Regions from separate parts of the Homo sapiens genome. Here regions 2 and 3 are each linked to region 1. Evidence: promoter capture Hi-C in human tissues and cell types (Jung and others, 2019). All regions are on one chromosome and are shown on one strand. The core of a region is centred on a gene start or on the middle of the fragment in contact, and the rest is flanking DNA. Distances in the headings are between cores, read along the strand shown.

Region 1 (4,907 bases), core at 1,685-4,184:
TTGCCCAAGGCCTCCCAGCCCGCGCAGGGCACAGCAAAGGTGCACACCAGGCAGGGGGCTCCAGAAGTGCCTGTCCCCTGCCTCCCCGGCACTGTGAATTGAGGCACAGCCTGGGGTTGGTGTGACCTGTCTACCCTGGGCTGGGGAGAGAGGGTGGCAGAGGCAGCCTGGCCGTGCCCCTGGCTCATATCCACTCGTGTTTGCAGCAAGGGTCCTTCTCAGGGAAGGCAAAGGATCCCTCCTCCAGAGGGAGGCGGCTCCAGTGCTGAGTTCCCCACTCCCAACTGCCGGGGTGTGACTTGGGGACATCCCTTACCCTCTCTAAGGCAAGGGGCCCTGACTTCTCCATTTACTAGTTCTTGGCAATTTCCATAACCCTCTCAGTTTTCTCATCTGTAAGATGGGTATAAGAACGTTACCAACTTCATTCCTAGGTGAGCTCCAGCAGGAGGAGAGGCCGCGCCTGGCTCACTGCTGGGCCCCCATGTCTAGAACAGTGCCAGGCACACAGCGTGTGCTCAAGGAACCACGTTTGTTATTGTTACTACTGTTGTGGGATGATGCAGGGACGGGCCAGACAGGGGAGCAGAGGGAAGGGATTCCTGATACAGGGAACACGCCCAGTCTGGGGCTGCCGGGGCTCCTCCGGATGCTGGGCCCACTTCTTTCAGGGCATGTGTGTTGGGGGACACGCAGGTGCCAGGGCAGGCCCACCAGAGGAACCCCCAGAGGGGTTTCCGTGGGAGCTGCGGTTGAGCATGGCTTGGAAGTTTCTGGGGAGAGGAATGGGCTCAGTGCTGCAGGAGAATCGGCCAGAGCTAGGGTGGGTGTGGGAGGCATGGAGAGGCAGCCCAGGAGCCTGATGCCTGGGGCATTGGTGAGCACTGGGGGAGGTGGAAAGATGCAGGAATAAATCCAAGTATGAGGTTTATGTCGCCAAGCCCTCCAGAACCCCTCCACCACCGCACCACCCACAGGCCTGCGCCAAACTGGCCTCCCTCTCACACTCTCCTTCTGGCCCCCACAGCCCCTGGAAGGGAGAGAACTGGGTGTTTGGTCCCTGCCCTGGCAGGTGAGGAGAGACTGCAAGCAAGAGGGGCATAGCCTGCACCCCCAGACCAAGCAGGGGGCTATTGTGCCTATGCAGGGGAACAGGTGAACAAAGACAGTTCCTCCCTGACCCGCCTGTCCCCAGCCTCACCCTCATCCTCTTTGATGTACCCCCAGCCAGTCACCCAGCAGTCTGTCCGGTTCTCAAACTCAAATGTGGAGGCCTGGAGACAGATGGGCTGGATGTGTTTAGTGTAGGTGACAGGTGCAGACAGCTTCACCAAGGCAATGTCATAGGGTGAATTCCCCAGGTAGCGAGGGCTCAGATAGATATTCGATACGAAGTAACGGGTGTAGTAGGCCTGCAGGCTCCAGAAGGATGGCATGGAAGTCAGCTGGCCAAACTGGACCATCCACCCGGAGGGATCACTAAGGTCACTATAGCTGGCAGAAGAGAAGAGAGCAGTCAGGGGCCCTGGATGGAGGGCTGGCTACCTGAGCACAACTGGGGTCCAGTGCAGGAGGGGAAACTGTGGTGTTGCTGCTACTTGCTAACACCCAGGGTCCCCTGCAGAAATGAAGGAGCCCAGACAGACCACAACCAAAGTCCTAGGACCTGCTCCTGCAGCAGAAGGGTGGGGTCTTGTCACCTCCCAGAGCTGTCCCAAGGAGCCTTGCATTGAGCCAAGGCCTCCAGGGGCACCCCCATGCAGCCCAAGGAGGAATGGGGAGATGCACCACGCCAATGTGGGATTGGCAGGATGGAGTCCACACAGCGGCCCGGGGGTGCTGGCCTTGGCTCAGTGCCCCACACTGTACCGCACCGTCCACCAGGAGGGGGGATGAGGGTGGGATGGTCAGTGGTGAACTTTGGGTTGAAAGAAAAAGGGAGAGAATACCCAAAAGTGTGTGGAAATGTTCTGGAAGAACATTCTGGAATAACCTGAACAGGGTTCCCTCCAGGAGACCCAAAGGGAACTGGAGTGGGTGTAACCGGCTGCAGCACAGCCTGGGGCTCAGGAGAACACCAGGCCGCATCCACGCACAACTTTCACGCCCAAGTCTGGCATCAGACCAGAGGTAAAGTTCGGTGGCACTCCCTCCAGCCCTGTTCCTGCCCGTCCCCGCACCCCTCCGTTCGCACCCCCACTCACGTTTCAAAGCAGTGCGCCGCCGTGAGTGCCCAGCGGTGGCTGAGCAGGCTCACTCCGCATACGTGGGAATCCCACAGGCGCAGGCTCCCCTGCCACGGCCAACGCCCGAGTTCGGCGTCCTCTCCACCCACGATGCGCGACGTGATGACCCGTCGGCCGCATGGTCCTCGGATGGTCAGAGGAACTGCTGAGCCGCGGGAGGCAGCCCCCCAAGCCCGACCTCTCCCTTTCTCCCCTTCAACCCCGTCCGGGAAAGCACGTTTTTGCCCACCCAGGGTCCCCTCGCGTGTGTGCAGCAGGAAGTAGGTGACACTGGAGATCCTCCCACGTGCTCTGCAGGGCCCGCCCATCCCCCTCCAGCGTCCGTTAGTTACTTTCCACGCCAACAGAGTTCTCGATCCCGGGGGCGGGGGCGAGAGAGCAGTAAAGGCCCCCCTCTACCCCCTCACCGCCCCCCGTCCACCTCGGCCCAACGGCCCTGGCAGGAATCGCGCGTCCTGGGCGCCCTACCTGATAACGGCGCCGCCTCCTGCGACTCTGCGGGAGACAAGAAGTGACTCCCCGCGGCCTCCACCTCCCGTCCTCCCCACCGCTCCCCCGCCTCCCCATCCCGCCAGCAGCGCCCCGAGCTCACCCGGCTTCCTGAGTCCAGCCCGAGCCAGCAGCAGCGCCAGCAGCAGCGCCCCGCGCGCGCCCATGGCCTCCTCTCCCGCGGCCTGACGCCCCCTCTGCCTCCTCTCGCGCCGGGCCCGGGGCGCCCCCTGGGGGCGGGGCGGGGTGGGAGCTCTGCCCTCTACTCCCAGCTTCACCCTCCTGGGCCCAAGGGCTGTTTGGGGCCTCTCATGCCTGGCAGCGCCCTGGCTTTCAGCCCCTAGGGGCGGGTCTTCAACCACACTTCTTGATGTGGCCCAGACCCGGTGGACCCCACAGTCCCTTTCTTGTCTGCAGCCCAGGGGTCCCGGCTGCCCTCTTGGTGACCCCGTCCTCCACCTACAACCTCCTCCAGCACCAAGGGCCTGGCCCTGAGCCAGGAGTCCCCTTAAAGCCTGGGGACCCCCTGAAGGCCGGGTGGGGCCTAGAGGCATGGCTGCTCCTTCATGGGACCTTCTTGGGAAAACAGTGGTCCTCGGCCCGTTCCACCCAGAATGGGGATCTCCCCAAGTCTCTGCCCAGGCTGTCCCCACTGCGGGCTCCCGCTGGGCTCTCTTCACTTCTCTGGAACAATTTTTTTTTTTTTTGAGATGGAGTTTCGCTCTTGTCGCCCAGGCTGGAGTGCATTGGCGTGATCCCAGCTCACTGCAACCTCCACCTCCTGGGTTCAAGCGATTCTCCTGCCTCAGCCTCCCAAGTAGCTGGGGTTACAGGCGCGCGCCAGCACACCTGGCTCATTTTTGTATTTTTAGTACAGACGGGGTTTCGCCATGTTAACCAGGCTGGTCTCCAACTCCTGACCTCAGGTAATCCGCCCACCTCGGCCTCTCAAAGTGCTGGGATTACAGGCATGAGCCACCGCGCCCAGCTGCAATTCCACTTCTGAGCATACACCCAAAAGAACTGAAAGGAAGGTCTTCAAGAGATATTTGTTTTTGGTTTTTTGGGGGGATTTAGTTTTGTTTGTTTTTGAGATGGAGTCTTGCTCCATCGCTCAGGCTGGAGTGCAGTGGTGCGATCTTGGCTCACTGCAACATCTGCCTCCTGGGTTCAAGTGATTCTCCTGTCTCAGCCTCCAGAGTAGCTGGGATTAGAGGCACCTGCCACCATGCTTAGCTAATTTTTGTATTTTTAGTAGAGATGGGGTTTCGCCATGTTGGCCAGGCTGGTCTTGAACTTCTGACCTCAGGTGATCTGCCCTCTGCGGCCTCCCAAAGTGCCAGGGTGAAGGTGTGAGCCACCCCACCCAGCCTTCAAGAGATATTTGTATACCCATGTTCATAGCAGGATTATTCACAGTAGCTGACATGAAAGCAACCCAAGAATCCATTGACCACTGAACAGATCAGTGAAAATGGGAATGTACAACCAGAACCTGGGAATCCCGCCTCCCTCAACTTGAAACTTGGGAATAGCGTATTCTACTTTCAACACTTGCACTAGTGGAAGGTTAATTACATGAAAGATTAGGCAAAATGTGTGGTTAGGCGTTCTGGTTTTCCAATAAAAGTATTAAGTTTCTTTGGGGAAAGTACAGATAAAATGCTTAGCACAGAGCATGGTACCAACGGGAACTCAATGAGGGCGCAGCGGGTGTGTGGGAGCTTCGGGTTTCAGGAGCACAAGGCTGCGGTGCCTTCCCTCAGGGCCTCCTTCCCCAGCAGCAGCTGCTCAAGGACAAGTCACATGCACAGCCTGGCCTTGGCCTGCTGGGTTGGGGCAAAGGTCCCTGGGCTTCTGATCCTGCCCCTCTCCCAGCCAGCAGGACGTTCCCTCTGGTTCCTGAGTCCCAGGGATCCGCTGAGGCCCCTAGGAGGTGTCAGCTCCTGGTTTTGCCCAGGGTCTCAGTCAGGCCAGTCCTACCCGGAGATCTGAGCCAGGGACTCAGGTTCTTGCCTCCAGTGAGGCTGGGGGCTTCCCGCAGAGGCCAAGCCTGGCCCGGGGGCTGCAGGGAGGCCCTGGCTGCTGCATGGGCTGCAGATGGAGACTCTCTTGTCTGCTGTGCCTCAGGCTGCAGAGTCACAGAGGGGTCTTCCCAAGCCCCACACCTGG
Region 2 (4,907 bases), core at 1,485-3,984, 150 kb after region 1:
GGCGCTGGTGTGTCCATTATCGCTTTACATCGATGGCCCCGACACTGGCCAAAGGAGCATGCCTCCACAGCATTCGTGGGTGTTGGTCAGGCTTCACAGGTATATGAAAGTTCCACAATTTTACATTGCACAGGCCTGAAGGACAGATTGGAACTATTCGCCCCCTCATTACACCCATTCCTGTTAATTTGTGGGGAAGAGATCTTTTATATCAATGGGGGGCTCAGATTACTTTTCCTAAAGGCAGTTACAGCCAGCAGAGTAAAGATATGATGACCAAAATGGGATTTGTTCAAGGTCTGGGTTTAGAAAAATCAGCACAAGGCATCACTGAGCATATCATACCTACTCCTAAAGCAGACTCTACAGGACTTGGTTATTCTTTTTAGAAGTGGTCACTATCAAGCCTCCAGAACCCATCCCTTTGACCTGGAGAACTTAAAAACCTGTCTAGGTAGATGAGTGGCTGCTCCCAAAAAATAAGCTGGAGGCACTTCATATTTTGGTTCTTGAACAGTTAAAATTGGGACACATTGAACCTTCTTTTTCTCCTTGGAATTCACCTGTTTTTGTTATTCAAAAGAAATCTGGTAAGTGGAGAATGCTTACTGATCTTAGGGCAGTAAATGCTGTCCTTCAGCCTATGGGGACATTACAACCCAGTTTGCCCTCCCCCAGTATGATTACTGAGTATTGGCCACTTATCATCATTGACCTTAAAGATTGCTTTTTTACCATTCCTCTGGCCCCTCAGGACTTTGAAAAATTTGCTTTCACTGTTCCAGCCCTTAACAACGTTGCTCCTGCAGCACGTTACCATTGGAAAGTCCTACCTCAAGGTCTGCTCAATAGCCCCACTATTTGTCAATATTATGTGGGATGCATATTAAAGCCAGTTAGAGATAAATTTCCCCAATGTTATATTATTCATTACACAGATGATATTCTTTGTGCAGCACCTTCACGCTCTGTATTAATATCTTGTTTTTCTGCATTACAGCAAGTGGTCACAGCAGCTGGCTTGGTTATCGCCCCAGAAAAAATTCACACTTCATCTCCTTATCACTATTTAGAGATGCAGCTAGAGGATAAGGTCATTAAGCCTCAAAAAGTTCAACTCAGACGAGACTCTTTAAAAACTCTAAATGATTTCCAAAAATTATTTGGAGATATTAATTGGATTCGTCCCTCCCTACGCATTCCTACTTATGCTGTGTCTAATCTTTTTGCAATATTACGGGGCAATCCTGATTTACGCAGTAAAAGGTCTTTGACTCCTGAGGCAGATTCTAAATTACGACTTATAAAAAAATGCATTCAACAGTCTCAGGTTACCAGAGTAAATCCACATTTACCTTTTGAAGTACTAATTTTTCCCACTGAACATTCACCAACAGGACTCATTATTCAGGGACATAATTTAATTGAATTGTGTTTTCTCCCACACAGCTCTTTACGTACACTAACTATCTAGATCAAATTTCTACCTTAATTGGTCAGGCTCGTTCTCGTCTCCTTCGTCTTTCAGGAACAGAGCCTCAAAAAATCGTTGTTCCCCTTACCCGATTACAAGTTCAACAGGCTTTGCTACTTGCATTGCTTGGCAAGTGCATTTGGCACGTTTCCCAGGTATAATTGATAATCACTATCCTCATGTAAAATTATTTCAGTTCCTTAAACTCACGTCTTGGATTTTACGTAACATTACTAGAAACACCCCATTACCTGAAGCTGTCACTGTTTTCACTGATGCTTCCTCTAATGGCCGAGCAGCATATACAGGACCCAGAGAACGTGTTCTTAACACAGGGGCTATTTCAGCACAACGAGCTGAACTGCCTGCTGTTATGGCTGTCCTTGAAGATTTTCCTGAGCCAGTTAACATTTTCTCTGACTCAGCGTATGTCGTACATGTTGCTCGCAACATTGAAACTGCCTTAATCAAATTTCTGCCTGATGATAACCTATTCCTTCTTTTTCAAAAGTTTCAGTCTGTGCTCAGAGCAAGGTCTTCTCCTTTCTACAGTACTCACATTCGGGCCCACACACCCCTCCCCGGACCCCTCTCGGCAGCAAATGCCAGAGCTGATACATTAGTTACTCCCGTTTTTACAGATGCAGAAAATTTTCATGCTTTAACTCACGTCAATGCTGCGGGACTCCGAAACAAGTTCCCCCTTACATGGAAGCAAGCTAAAACTACTGTGCGTCACTGTCCTACTTGTCAAGTGTTAATTTTACCACCACTGTCTTCAGGAGTTAACCCTAGAGGACTTTCACAGAATGCTCTTTGGCAAATGGATGTGACTCATTATCCTCCTTTTGGCAAGCTTTCTTTTATACATGTAACTATTGATACCTTTTCTCATTTTATTTGGGCCACTTGTGAAACGGGCGAAAGTACAGCTCATGGTAAACGACATGTGCCTTCCTGTTTCTCGGTTATGGGCTGTTCTGAGAAACTAAAAACTGATAACGGCCCCGCCTACACTAGTGCTGCTTTTAAAAAGTTTCCTCAGACATGGGCAATTACTCACACAACGGGCATTCCCTATAACTCTGGAGAACAGGCCTTGGTTGAACGAGCCAATAAAACACTCAAAGATCAACTTCGTAAACAGGATACTAAATCAAAGGGAGATGCTATTACTCCTCATGCCCAATTAAATCTGGCTCTTTTCACACTAAATTTCTTAAACTTAACAAGAAATCAACCTTTCACAGCCGCAGAACAACATTTCACTGGAAATAAATTTGATCCACAAAAAGGAATGCGGGTATGGTGGAAGGACGTAAAAACTAACACATGGGAATTAGGCACGGTCATAACTTGGGGTAGGGGTTTTGTTTGTGTTTCCCCAGGAAAAGAACTACAGCCTGTGTGGGTCCCCTCCCGACAATTAAAATTGCACCATAACTCCAAAGATGAAACGCTCCCAGAAAGAAAAGGCAAAGACCCATCGGAAACAAAAGAGCAACTTTCACCGCCTGATACATACACTTCATGACATCCACATTGAGACAAAATCTCGCCGTGTGACCTACAACACCTCTCGTTCAACCCCACCTACTTGGGGTCGAATACAGATTTTATCTCATCAAACAGAAAAATTCTTAACAGAAAAAGGAATCCCAAAAATGACTGGTAATATAATTCTGGCTGCCTTTATGGTAGTCAGTGCAGCGGTAAGTATACCACCGGTCGGGGCAACTCAAAATTATACTTATTGGGCATATGTTCCTTTTCCCCTTCTAATTCGGTCTGTCTCCTGGAGGGACTCTCCAGTAGAAGTTTACACTAATAATAGTGCATTCATGCCGATCCCTAATGATGATCGGTTTCCAGCTCAACCGGAAGAAGAAGGTATGCACTTTAATCTGTCAATTGGCTATAAATATCCACCATTATGTATTGGGAAGTCGCCTGGTTGTTTAGCTTATTCTTAACAGAATTGGATGTGGACTGTACCGTCCTTTACAAATGATTCTTATCAAGTATATAATGTGTTCAGTACTAACTCTTTTCAACTTCTCACTGTCAAACGTACCCCACATGAGGCATGGAGAGTTCCTCTCACTACCAAAACTAATAAAACAAAAGGACTGCCGGACTGTCCAAAGAAACCTACAAATGGGCCTTTTATAGTGACTTCAATTTTATGGGATAATTGTAATGCTCCCAAGGCTGTTGTACTCCAAACTCTAGCCATGGGTATTGTTATTGATTGGGCTCCAAAAGGACATTATTGGCAAGATTGCTCCAGCAAAAATACCTTATGCTCGGAGTTTATTTATTCCTTAGATTATATAGAGCATGGGTGGCAGTCTTACACGATGAGACAACGGGTGTCTCCTTACCCATTTAAATGGATGGACACAGGTATTGCTCCTCCTAGACCAAAAATTATTCATCCCTTTTTTACCCCAGAACATCCTGAACTATGGAAATTAGCTGCAGCTTTGTCGGGAATAAAGATATGGAACACTACCTATCAGCTCCTTCGTACTAAAACCAAAACACCCACATTCAACATCACCCTTATTTCTGAATGGGTGATACCCATTAGGAGCTGTGTCAAACCCCCTTACATGCTGTTGGTTGGAAATATAATTATGATGCCTGATGCACAAACTATAGAATGTCATAACTGTAAGCTGTTCACTTGCATTGATGCAACTTTTAATCCCACTACAAGTATTCTCTTGGTAAGGGCTAGGGAGGGGGTATGGATACCAGTTTCTCTACATCGTCCATGGGAGTCTTCCCCCTCTATTCACATAGTCAATGAAGTTCTTAAAGACATCCTCAAAAGAACAAAGAGATTTATTTTTACTCTTATTGCAGTCCTTGCAGGACTACTTGCGGTTACTGCAACAGCAGCAACTGCTGGAGTTGCCATCCGCAGTTCTGTTCAAACTGCTCACTATGTTGAAGCATGCCAGAAAAATTCCTCCAGACTTTGGAATTCTCAGGCGCAAATTGATCAAAAATTAGCTAATCAGATTAATGATCTCCGCCAAAGTGTAACCTGGCTGGGAGATAGAGTTATGAACTTGCAACACCGTATGCAATTACAGTGTGATTGGAATACTTCTGATTATTGCATAACGCCTTATGCTTATAATCAAGATCAACATAGCTGGGAAAATGTCTCAAGACATTTAAAAGCCTGGGATGATAACTTAACCTTGGATATTTCACAACTTAAAGAGCAAATCTTTGAGGCTTCACAAGCCCATTTATCCACAGTTCCTGGCTCACACATTTTTGAAGGCATAACTAAACAATTACCTGATTTTAATCCCTTCAAATGGCTCAAACCCGTCAGAGGATCATTGTTGTTACTGGCATTATTAATATTGGTATGCTTATGTTGTCTCCTTTTAGTCTGCAGATGCCTCTAAGG
Region 3 (4,907 bases), core at 818-3,317, 130 kb after region 1:
GTTTCATCATGTTAGCCAGGATGGTCTCGATCTCCTGACCTCGTGATCCGCCTGCCTCGGCCTCCCAAAGTGCTGGGATTACAGACGTGAGCCACCGCGCCCACCTTTTTGTATTTTTAGTAGAGACCGGGCATCACCATATTGGCCCGGTTGGTTTTGAACGAGATCCACCTGCCTGGGCCTCCCAAAGTGTTGGGATTACAGGCATGAGCCACCGCGCCTGGCCCATAATTTTTAACAAAGTCTTAAGGAACAGTAAAGCAAAGGGATCAACCACCTTAACTGTGCTAAAGTTCATCAACTGGGAATCAAGTGCTCCAGTGCTGAATAGACAACCATTGCCTCAAAGAACCCAATGGACAAGAGCAATTTAAACTCTAATTTCATATACAAAACAGGAATGCTTGAGTAGAAAGGCAAGGGAGTGACCACTAAGCCCTGTTATTTAAAAAGAAAAACCAAACAGTAAAACATACACCCACACTTATAAAAGGAAAATCACAGCTAACAAACGCCTATTTCTATCCTGGGGATGACTGTCATTTCCTGGGAGGTCAATTCTCTGAGTAGAGGGCTTGGTCAAATGAGCAATGGAAACAGTTGGAAGTTGTGGGGAGGCACAGGAGGGTTGGCATCTCAAACCCTCATTTCCACCCACAAGGCTGCCTTAGCAGTAACTCCAGATTCTCACTTCCTGATCACGGTCATGCCATGCTGAGAATGGTCTCAGTCAGGCTTCTCAAACTTGAAGAGGGATCCGAACCTTTCTGGGAAGCCTCCTGCATGGCAAATGTTGGCTGCCAAGGCACAAAGCCAAGCGCAGTCATGTAAGCTCAACTGAAAGACCCCGCAAAGTTAGTATAAGGCTTGTGAACTGCCTTGAATAAATATAGGTAACAACTTCTTCAAACAGGCTTTTTTGTGAGTTTCAATCCTGCACAACTCCCAAGACACGGTTCCTCGGCTCCACAACTCTTGATAAATAAAGGTAGCAAAAGGTTTCTATTACCATCTACCCAACAGCATGAGCATTTCGCTTGATGAAAGACAAGCTGCAAACTAACCTGGAAATTCCTGTCCTTTTGCGAAGACAGTGGGAAAACTAAGCCAATTAGAAAGCAGATTGAAAGATTCCTTACCTGACCCTTCCTGGACATCCCTAAAGCAACCCTTAATATGAGCAAAATCCCCTTCGAAAAATCATACTATATACTACGGACGCATCTTCTAAGAGGTGCTGAGTGGGTGCTGCGTGCTGTGGATGGAAAGGATGGAGCGCCAACTCTCTAAATGCAAGTCACCAGGGAAAAAAAGGGCCGCCCATATCAACCCCCACGTCAGCGTTAATTCAAACGTCCAGAATGTGAAACAACGCCAAGGGTTCTGTTTCCAGAGCCAGCAAGTACCCTGGGACAGAGAAGAGAAGGCGTTCACACACCCTGGGCAAAAGAACCTAGTGAGAAAAAGAAAGTAGAATCACAGCAAAGTCCGGGGTCTAGGAAGCCTCCTCCACCAAAGAGCAAAGAGGGCGAGGAAGAGACACCCCCAAGGTGAATCGACTCAGGATCCTCAAAGGCAGTGGACGCCAGGGCGCCATCCTCACCCTCCCCTCCCAGGGTAGGGGATCGGGGCAAGCTGGGGAGGAGCTGGCGACAAGGGAGCGCGGGGCTCGAAGCCCGAGGAGAGTCGCCCGCTCCCGCTGAAGTCTCCTCCGCACGAAGCAGGGCGTGTGCAGGAGCCGCAGGCCGGGAAGGCCAGGACCCTCCGGGCTGGCCCGTGAGGCCCTCACCTTGTCTGAGTCCAGGTCGGGATCGGCCTGGCATAAGCGGTACAGGAAGGATTTCGGGTCCCGGCACAGGGTCTGCCGAGTGGTGAGGAAGTAGGTGCCGCCGACGTTGAGTCGGACCCACTTGGACACGCTGCCAGGGCGCTGGGCCAGGGCGCCGAGCCCAGCGCTGCAGCGGCGGCACAGGCCGCCCCCCAGCCCCGCCCCGATGCCGCCCCGGGCCGGCGACAGGAGCTCGCAGTGATTCTCCGCCATGATCCCAGCAAGCCCCGCAACAGCTCCCTTCCACCGGAAGCGTCCGGCTTTTAATAGCGTCCTCTGAGTTCTGTCCCGCCCACAGGTCCGCCCTGGTAGAGCGCCCGCCCCGGCGTCACGCGGTAGGCGGAAGTTCCGGTCCCGAAAAGCAGGAGGCTGGGCCCGCTTCCGGCGGGAGCGGAGCACGGGGTGATCTGGGCACTAACGCTGATGGGGAGCAGCGGACATCAGCCTCGACCTCCCACGAGCGGTGCACGAGCGCCTGACCCAGACCTCGACCCTAGCCTTCACCCCCACCCTGACTCCAGTTCATGAACTGGTCAAAGGAAGAGCCATGCCAGCAAACGTCTACACTGTACATGCTTTTTATTACAAGACTACGGAGCATAGGAGGAAAATTCATCATCTGGTAACTACACCTAAAGCACAAATATTTGGGGGGAAAAAAAGAACAGATTCATTAAATTATATGATTAAATCATTGACCCAATAGAAAATTTATATAATAAGGGCGGGGCCTGGTGGCTCACGCCTGTAATCCCAGCACTTTGGGAGGCCGAGGCGGGAGGATCAGGCGGTCAGGAGATCGAGACCACGCTGGCCAACATGGTGAGGCCCGGTCTCCACTGAAAATACAAAAATTAGCCTGGCGCGGTGGTGGGCGCCGGTAATCCAAGCTACTCGGGAGGCTGCGGCAGGAGAATGGCGTGAACCCGGGAGGCAGAGGTTGCAGTGAGCTGAGATCTCGCCACTGCACTCCAGCCTGGTGATAGGGCGAGAGTCTGTCTCAAAAAAAAAAAAAGAAAGTTTTTGTAATAAAGCCAGAAAAAAGTTGTAAAATATATAGTAATTATTCACATTCAAGGCTGTATATCAATACATATAACAACGTGGCCCCGAACATGAATTCAATACAAATAATTCATATATTAGAATTTAGGCCGGGCGCGGTGGCTCATGTCTGTAATCCCAACACTTTGGGAGGCCAAGGTGGGTGGATCACGAGGTCAGGAGTTCAACATCAGCCTGGCCAAGATGGTGAATCTCCGTCTCTACCAAAAATACAAAAAATTAGCCAGATGTGGTTGTGGGCGCTCGTAATCCCAGCTACTCGGAGGCTGAGGCAGAGAATTGCTTAAACCCAGGAGGCGGAGGTTGCAGTTAGCCGAGATCAGGCCACTGCACTCTAGCCTGGGCGACAGAGTGAGACTCCGTCTCAAGAAAAAAAAAGAATTTAAATAACAGGCTGAACTAGAGGCCAACAATAGCCAGCAAATAACCTTCTATAAGATTAAAAACACAAAAGTGTATATCCTAATACCATTGTATTATTTGTTTTCATGAGTTCTTTTAATTTTTGCTTTGTCTGTACATCACAGTTACAGCTACAGACCAGGTAGAGAATATTACGCATGTTCTGACTGCCACCCACCTGAAAGACGTACTAGTCATTTATCCTATTTCATGTTGTGAAGGAACAGCTACAGCAGCTCTAAATACTGTAACAATTTAATTTTGCCAACATCCAACTTAACAGTCGTAATAGAGGCTTTTACCAGCACAATGACCCCTATTCGTAGTCATTCTGCCAGACGGTTAGGCTATGTGGGTTACACAGCTTAAAAAAGGTCTGCCTTTTGTAAAAAGTTCTCTGTACATAGTTTGGTGTTTCTTCATATGGAAGAAATGAGTTATGGGGAAAATTCAGGTACACACGTAGGCTCGTTCAGTTGCTCACCACAGCCATCTCAACAGATGAAAGTGCTCTTTGTTGGAAACAGCTTCCTCCTCACACCAGTTCTCCACAGGCAGCCTCATCTACAACCCTGCAATTTTGGGCCAGAAGTGGTGGCCCCTCAGAGGCTCTGAAGTGCCTCCAGCCCCGATTCAGGCACTTGCCACGTGTGCTGCGTAAGAAGGGACCCCACCCAGTGAGTCAACATAGGCTCATGTCAAGTTTGAAAATAACTGGGGAAAAGTGTATGACAACATCTTCCAGAACATAGTACCTTCACCGTATTCTCACAGCAGCTGCGATCTCTGAAGTCTCAGCAGTGAGCACCCCGGGTCTGTCAACCAGCCAGGCAAGGGGGGGCCCTCAGGCTTCAGAGGGCAAGAAACCAAATTCCGTGCAATTTGGCCATAATCTCTGGTAGAGTGAAGCAGCACTGAACGCAGTGCCTAGAAAAACCTCCTGCACGTTCCCCTGCACAATCAATGGACCCCAACTACAGTGGAGAAATGAAGAATCCAACCAAATTTGGGTGGTCTGGACTTGCTGCCAGCCAGGCAATCTGCAACACTGTGGGCAGGGAGATGGGGGGAGGCGGCCTGAAATCTACACCAGCTGGGACAACCACGCCCTACAATGAAAAAGCCAGCCTGGCTGCTGGGCTCTTGTGAACCACTAAGACCTGAAGGTGGGGGGGTGGAAGGGGGAGACAAATGCACTCTTGTAAAACCCAATCAGCTACGTGGTTTTTTTCAAGTAGAGGCTTTGCTCTGCTACTGACTCCAAATGGCCTAATGTACTTTCTGAGTCTATAAACTTAATTACAGATCACTCACTAAGCATGTGGCAAGGTCAGTTCAACACTTGTTATCTCTGCTGACTGCGCAGTTGCAAATTCAATACCATTGTGGACATGAAGTACAAGATTCTGAAAATATCGCCAAGCGCTTGAAAGCCACGGCAGCAGGGAGGGCAGAGAGCTGACATGCAGGCAGAGCCAGGTTCTTGCAACCAAAACAAGGAAATTGGCTCTTGGAAAAAATCGGCCACAAATGGATTGCAGTAGTGACATCCTCTTAGCATTTAAATAAAGAGCGGTCTTATTCAGACATTCTTTGGAACACACGGCTTATC

Evidence for each region. Contacts are between HindIII fragments. The study calls those that stand out against the background at their distance.
Region 2: a fragment that was not itself captured here is called in contact with the fragment with the promoter of PRSS21 in region 1 in 2 of the 25 tissues and cell types used here (lymphoblastoid cells and spleen).
Region 3: a contact is called between the fragment with the promoter of KCTD5 here and the fragment with the promoter of PRSS21 in region 1, in 3 of the 25 tissues and cell types used here (liver, mesenchymal stem cells and spleen).

The regions. Positions count from the first base shown.
Region 1 is chr16:2,815,264-2,820,170 of GRCh38, reverse strand. It overlaps PRSS21 (serine protease 21), which reads right to left and starts at 2,934. Exons shown (of 6, transcript NM_006799.4): 1 at 2,839-2,934; 2 at 2,715-2,741; 3 at 2,205-2,370; 4 at 1,202-1,494. The coding sequence starts at 2,902. RefSeq lists enhancers at 1-139, 4,732-4,907 and silencers at 2,617-2,676, 2,787-3,066. The HindIII fragment of the contact is 10,567 bases long and covers 1-4,582 here.
Region 2 is chr16:2,661,363-2,666,269 of GRCh38, reverse strand. It overlaps ERVK13-1 (endogenous retrovirus group K13 member 1), which reads left to right. Exons shown (of 3, transcript NR_040023.1): 3 at 2,863-4,907. Among named protein-coding and RNA genes, the nearest start is that of ERVK13-1, 9.6 kb to the left of the region's middle. The HindIII fragment of the contact is 6,273 bases long and covers 1-4,907 here.
Region 3 is chr16:2,679,683-2,684,589 of GRCh38, reverse strand. KCTD5 (potassium channel tetramerization domain containing 5) reads right to left here and starts at 2,067. Exons shown (of 6, transcript NM_018992.4): 1 at 1,790-2,067. The coding sequence starts at 2,041. RefSeq lists enhancers at 1,385-1,434, 1,505-1,554, 1,099-1,709 and a silencer at 1,805-1,984. The HindIII fragment of the contact is 14,940 bases long and covers 1-4,907 here.